2 separate regions of the Homo sapiens genome follow, and region 2 is linked to region 1. The links are contacts of gene promoters, found by promoter capture Hi-C in human tissues and cell types (Jung and others, 2019). All regions are on one chromosome and are shown on one strand. The core of a region is centred on a gene start or on the middle of the fragment in contact, and the rest is flanking DNA. Distances in the headings are between cores, read along the strand shown.

What was found. The method cuts DNA at HindIII sites, captures the fragments that hold promoters and counts their contacts. A contact is called where the count stands out against the background at its distance.
Region 2: the fragment with the promoter of CBLN3 here is called in contact with the fragment with the promoter of IL25 in region 1 in 1 of the 25 tissues and cell types used here (mesenchymal stem cells).

Annotation. Positions count from the first base shown.
Region 1 is chr14:23,371,281-23,374,211 of GRCh38, forward strand. It overlaps IL25 (interleukin 25), which reads left to right and starts at 1,529. Exons shown (of 3, transcript NM_172314.2): 1 at 1,529-1,695; 2 at 1,896-2,116. The coding sequence starts at 1,687. The HindIII fragment of the contact is 4,168 bases long and covers 777-2,931 here.
Region 2 is chr14:24,427,987-24,430,917 of GRCh38, forward strand. It overlaps CBLN3 (cerebellin 3 precursor), which reads right to left and starts at 1,682. Exons shown (of 3, transcript NM_001039771.3): 1 at 769-1,682; 2 at 300-419. The coding sequence starts at 1,068. It overlaps KHNYN (KH and NYN domain containing), which reads left to right and starts at 1,968. Exons shown (of 8, transcript NM_015299.3): 1 at 1,968-2,133; 2 at 2,728-2,931. The coding sequence starts at 2,745. RefSeq lists a silencer at 1,805-2,344 and enhancers at 2,375-2,554, 2,699-2,931. The HindIII fragment of the contact is 5,614 bases long and covers 1-2,931 here.

The DNA.
Region 1 (2,931 bases), core at 279-2,778:
CATGGTTTCATTGTCGGGATAAAATGAGATGATGCATGCCCAGGGCTTAGCACCATGCCTGGCACATGTAAGTGCACAGGAGCTGAGGCCAGCAGGATATGGAAGGGAGAGGACGTCTGCGAGTACTGGGGGCAGAGGGTGAGGCAGTGAGAGTGGGGCCATGATACTGGCCTCATCACTGTTCCTGAGTGCCCCTGCTTTCCCAGCCACCACCTGCTTCTTCTAAGTGCCCTCCATCCCACAGTTCCAGGTGCCCCAAGACTCATCAGAGCAGAGCAGTTTCTCCCAATTTTCCAGATTGCCCTTTGACTTCATCACTTCTCTCTTTTGGGGCTGCTTTGCCCTAACGCATTGGAAAGATTCCTCTCACTGCAGTTTAAGTTATTCCTGGTTCCCTTTGTTGATTTCCTAGTCCTTGGTTACTAGAGGAGTATTTTCTAAGGGAAAGCACATGCAAATCAAGCCACATCATTCTAGGGGCAATGTCTGTGTATGGGTATGTTGGGTGCGTATGGGGGATGAGGCAGGCCAATAGGCAAGCATGAAGAGAAGGACCTGGGGGGAAGGACACACTGGCCCACTCTCAGCACAGTGTCTCCCAAGCAGGCTGGACCCGGCTGACCTGTGTCTTTGGGGTCAAGCCCAACTGTAAGCCTTTCTGGGGCACACATACACCCTCCTGGCTAACAGTGGCCCATGTTTCTGGACCTGCTGAGGCTGAGTGGGCTCACTTCATGGCCTGAAAGCAGTAGCTGACCCTGTCATGGGCTTGGTCCCCAAGGCTCTGTGAATGAGAGCAGGTTGGTTCCTGGAACTGAGACCTCCTTCCTGTTGGGTCTTAGGTGAGGCTGTTTCAGTTTCCCTCCTCTTCCTTGCTTCACCTTCTCATTTGTGCAATGGGGACACTCACCCACAGCTTCTTCCATCAGACCTTGCCCATCCAGCCAACAAACTTAGGAAGTCAGGGTCTTCCAGCAGCCCTGTGAGGGTAGGCTTGTATCCCCGGTGGGGGGCAGTGACTGGCGAGGGCAAGGGGGAGTTAGGGAGTGGGTCATGGACAATGGGGGAGAAGTCATAGCTGATGGGGGTCATAGAATTTTGGGGTCATTGAAAATGTGGAAGAGGTCAGAGAACAAAGGGGATGGGAGTCAAAGGATGTCTAAGGGAAAGGAAATAATCACGAAGGTGGATGATCAGAGGGACACCTGGGAAGAGGGGAATGGTGAAACCAGACCCTGGATGGGGGGAGCAGGGATCATGGAAACGAGGCCTCTTGAAGGGAGGCCACAAGACATTTCCTAATTTTGGCTACCAAACCAACCAGGGAAATCCCGCTAATGCCAGTTCACAAGAATGCAGAACAGCAGACTGTTATTGCTTTGACCCCATGGCCAGAAAAATTCAAAGAGCAAAGTTTACCCAATCAGCTACCAGGCATATAATGATGGTCATCACAACTTCCATGAGTATTGCATTTTAAGCAGCCTTTGGAAATACTTTCAGAGTTTTTTTGGTTTTGTTTTTTAACCTCAAGTCACTCCCTAAAAAGACAGTGGAAATAAATTTGAATAAACAAAACAGGCTTGCTGAAAATAAAATCAGGACTCCTAACCTGCTCCAGTCAGCCTGCTTCCACGAGGCCTGTCAGTCAGTGCCCCACTTGTGACTGAGTGTGCAGTGCCCAGCATGTACCAGGTCAGTGCAGAGGGCTGCCTGAGGGCTGTGCTGAGAGGGAGAGGAGCAGAGATGCTGCTGAGGGTGGAGGGAGGCCAAGCTGCCAGGTTTGGGGCTGGGGGCCAAGTGGAGTGAGAAACTGGGATCCCAGGGGGAGGGTGCAGATGAGGGAGCGACCCAGATTAGGTGAGGACAGTTCTCTCATTAGCCTTTTCCTACAGGTGGTTGCATTCTTGGCAATGGTCATGGGAACCCACACCTACAGCCACTGGCCCAGCTGCTGCCCCAGCAAAGGGCAGGACACCTCTGAGGAGCTGCTGAGGTGGAGCACTGTGCCTGTGCCTCCCCTAGAGCCTGCTAGGCCCAACCGCCACCCAGAGTCCTGTAGGGCCAGTGAAGATGGACCCCTCAACAGCAGGGCCATCTCCCCCTGGAGATATGAGTGAGTCTGCTGCCCCTCCCGAATGCCTGCCCTGTGTGTGCTGGCCAGGGTATGCGTGAGGGACCAGGGCAATTCCAGCTTACTTTCCCATTTTGATCTCAGAGGGGCTGTAAAGGTTTGGGAGTTAGACAAGGTCTGTATTTGAGTCCTAGCTCTGACTCTCATTGGATGATCTTGAGTCAATTCAAGTTTTCAAAACTCAGGGTTTTTTTTTTTTTCACCTGCAAAATGATATAATGCCCCATAGGCTAATGTGCAGATCAAATGAAATATAATGTATGTAAAAGTCTGTATTTATGTTGGTTCTCTCCTTTTCTTTTAAAACATCCCTATAATGGCCCATGTTTTTTCTGGGTAAAATATTAGGGAATAATGGCATGATACAGGCATGAAGCATCCCAATACCAATTGATACTGCCCTGGCCATGAATGGGTTAGTTATAAGCATACTAAAGGAGTGAAACCCTTAACTTTTGGGGGCAGCTGGCTGGCTGGAGCTGTGGACTGGATATCTTTGATCATGATCATGGGTACTGTATTCTTTCACTCAGTGTGCCACATAAATATTATAGTTCTCTATTTGTGCCATGATATGAAAAATATTAGGAAGTGCTGAAATATGAATGATGAAGCAAAATATTAAAAACTAGGGTCTTAGGGATTCCAGACATGTGATTTCACTTCTTCCTTCTAGTTCTGTCTTAGCATTGGCTTTGGGGGTAGATGGAGAAGTTCAGTGGTGGGGAGGGGGTCAGATCTAACTGAGATTGGATCTAGTGTGGACACTACAGGTCATGACTCTTTGGAGTGGTCTC
Region 2 (2,931 bases), core at 432-2,931, 1.1 Mb after region 1:
CTGGGGAGGGGAGCCCAGTTAGCCCCCATTCCCCAGCCCTTAGCTCAGGACCCCCCACTTTCCCAGGAGCTTCCTCTTGGGAAGCTGGGTTTTAATGGGCTCTCCCGGGAGGGCTGAGGGGCGGCCAGCATTGGACTCTGCACATCCTCCACACTCAATGCAAGGCAGGCCCATTCCTCCCCTGGTCCTGGCCTCCAGGACACAGGTCAATGGAGAGTCCACCCGGAGGTCAGCTGGGCTCCCCTTCTTCCCCCTCCCCACCCTCCTGAGCCGGGGATGGGGGCCAGTGCTGAGGTCACCTGGACAGTTTGGCGGTTGTACACCTTCACCACATGGAACCGGAAGCTGTAGACACCCCGGACAGGGGCTACGAAGGAGCCAGAGGCCCGGTCAAAGCCACCGCCCTCGTTCACCAGGACCTGGGGGAAGCAGAGCCTGCTGAGTGGGGCTCAGGAAATGCCCATGGCTCAGGGGTACCATGGGGACTAGGGGCAGGGGCAGTGAGTAATGAATAGAAGGAGTGGCAAGTAGGAGTGAATAGGAGTGAACAGATTCAAAAGAAATGGTGAGAAGGGGCAAGGAGAGGGCTGCGTATGGGTGGAGGGAGGGGAAACCGTCGGTGGGGTGGTGGGGCAATAGGCCAGATTAGTGAAAGATGTAGGAAGCTGTTTTCTTAAAGCCTCAGAGACAGCAAAGTGGGCTTGGACAGTTGCTTCCAGGTCCTTGCAGGGTCTTTCCAGGTCCCCTGGACAGGGGTAGGGGGATTACCTGGTCGAAGTAGATGGCCCCACTGGTGCCATTGCCGGTTTCCCCTGCTGGCTCATGGTGGTGGCTTCGGACCGCAGCAAATGCCACTCGCCCAGGGGGTGCCTCTCCCAGGGCTGCTCCCCCGGGCCCCCCTGCAGCAGCTCGGCCAGGCTCACAGACCACCAGGCACTCCCCCTCCAGCAGGACGGGCTCTGACCCCTCCTGGGCCCACCCGGCCCCCAGGGCCAGAAGCACCAGAACCAAGGGCAGCCCGGGACTGTGTAGGGGACCTGGTAGCCAGTGTGGCTTGGCTCCCAACATGGCTGAGGGGCTCTGCAACCCACAAGTGCCCCGGTCTTCTGCCCCTCTTCTGTTTCCGCTCCTCTCCCTGGATTCTCACCGCCGGCACCCTGATCGTCTGCCCTCTCTAGGCTCGCTGAACCCCCTCTCCATACCTGTGTCCCAGCTCTGTCCTGCCTCCCACTCTTACTCCTGCTGTCACTGCAGTTCCCTCCTCCTTGGCAGAGCATGCAGTGACAGCAGTTGGGCTTTGGGAGAGAAAGGAGGGATGAAGCCGCCTGCCCACTGGACGGGAGGGCTGCAGCCAGAGCTTCAGGGCAGCCCTGCTGGATGGGACAGCACTGAGGGCTGGACCTGGGGGGATGGAGAACATGGTATGTGTGTGTGACGGGTGTGACAGAATGTGTGAGTGTGTGCATATGCCAGAGGCAGCCCCTCAACCCCTTCCTCCTACTCTTCCTCTCTTCAAAATCCCCCACAAATCAACAGCCCTTCTTCGTGGCATCTTTCCGTTTGTTGGAAGAAAGGGGTACTCCACCACGGGTACCCTCCGCCTCCCGCCTCCCGCCTACCCCCTCCGCCACGATTGCTTTGGTGGAAAGTGCTTGGGCCTAGAGCACCAGTGGGCCAGTCACGCTGCCTCTTTGGTCGGCCACATCTTTATTCGCGGGAAACAACTTTCAACGCATGGTTCCCCTTTCCGAGAAGTAACTGCGCAGAATGCGCGAGGACCCTGAGGGCCGGGAGACAGACGGGAGGGCTGGTGAGAAGCGCAAGGGGCGAGCCCTGGAGCCGCCGAGGGGACTAGGCCGAGCGGGCCCGTCGGGGCCTCTGGGCGCGGCGGCGGGGTTGGGAGGAGGGCGCGCAGCCGGGAGGAGCTGGGCTGACTCCGCCCCAGGCCAGGAAGTGACTCAAGAAACAGTTTGCGTGCGATGTGGACAAGAGAGGTCCCCGCTGGGTGAGGAACCCGGGAAGGCCCGCCCAGATTCGGGCCCCCTGCCCTTGTCCCCTGGGCTGGGGGCGCGGGCAAAGCGGGGGCCTGGCGGGCGCTGAGAGGACCTGAAGCCGGCGCGGGCGGCGGAGGCGGTAGGCGCGCCCCTCCACCGCGCCCGGGAGCGGGGAGCGGGGGCCGCGGTGCGGAGTAGGCCCGGCCCGGGGTGGCTGCCCCAGTCCGCGGTGGGCGGGCCCGGCCCGGCCCGGCCCCTGGGCCCTGGGCGGTGCTCCTGGCCCGACGGAGAGGGGCAGCGGACGGCTGGGGGAGGGGTGGGAGTGGCTTGAACCTTGGAAATGGCAGACCAGGGCCCCCAGAGGACAGCCTAGTTCAATCCCCTGCTGAGGATTCGTCCTTAAGAAGCTTCAGAGTGCCCCAGGAGACTCCTTCTGGCCTCCAGGCCGAGCTGGAGCCCCCCCACCCTTCTTGCTCCGGACTGTGGTCATCCTTTTCCAAAGCCCAGACGCCCACTCTCGATAGACAGCCTTGTTTACCGGGACTTCCTCTCCGGAGAGGCCTGCGTGACATACACCCTCCCTACCTCCAGTGGACTCAGATGCTTGTCACCTCCTGGGGCTGTTTACCAGAGCCTTAACTAGGTGCGACCTGTTGATAGCTGGTGTAGTCCCAGGAACCAGGATTTGGATGGAGGGTACAATGAGGCTCTGAGCTGCCTTCTCCCCTTCCAGGGCTGGGGGCAGCAGCCATGCCTACCTGGGGGGCCCGCCCCGCGTCCCCAGATCGCTTTGCGGTGTCTGCGGAGGCTGAGAACAAGGTTCGGGAACAGCAGCCCCATGTGGAGCGCATCTTCAGCGTGGGGGTGAGCGTCCTTCCGAAGGACTGTCCGGACAACCCCCACATCTGGCTGCAGCTGGAGGGCCCCAAGGAAAACG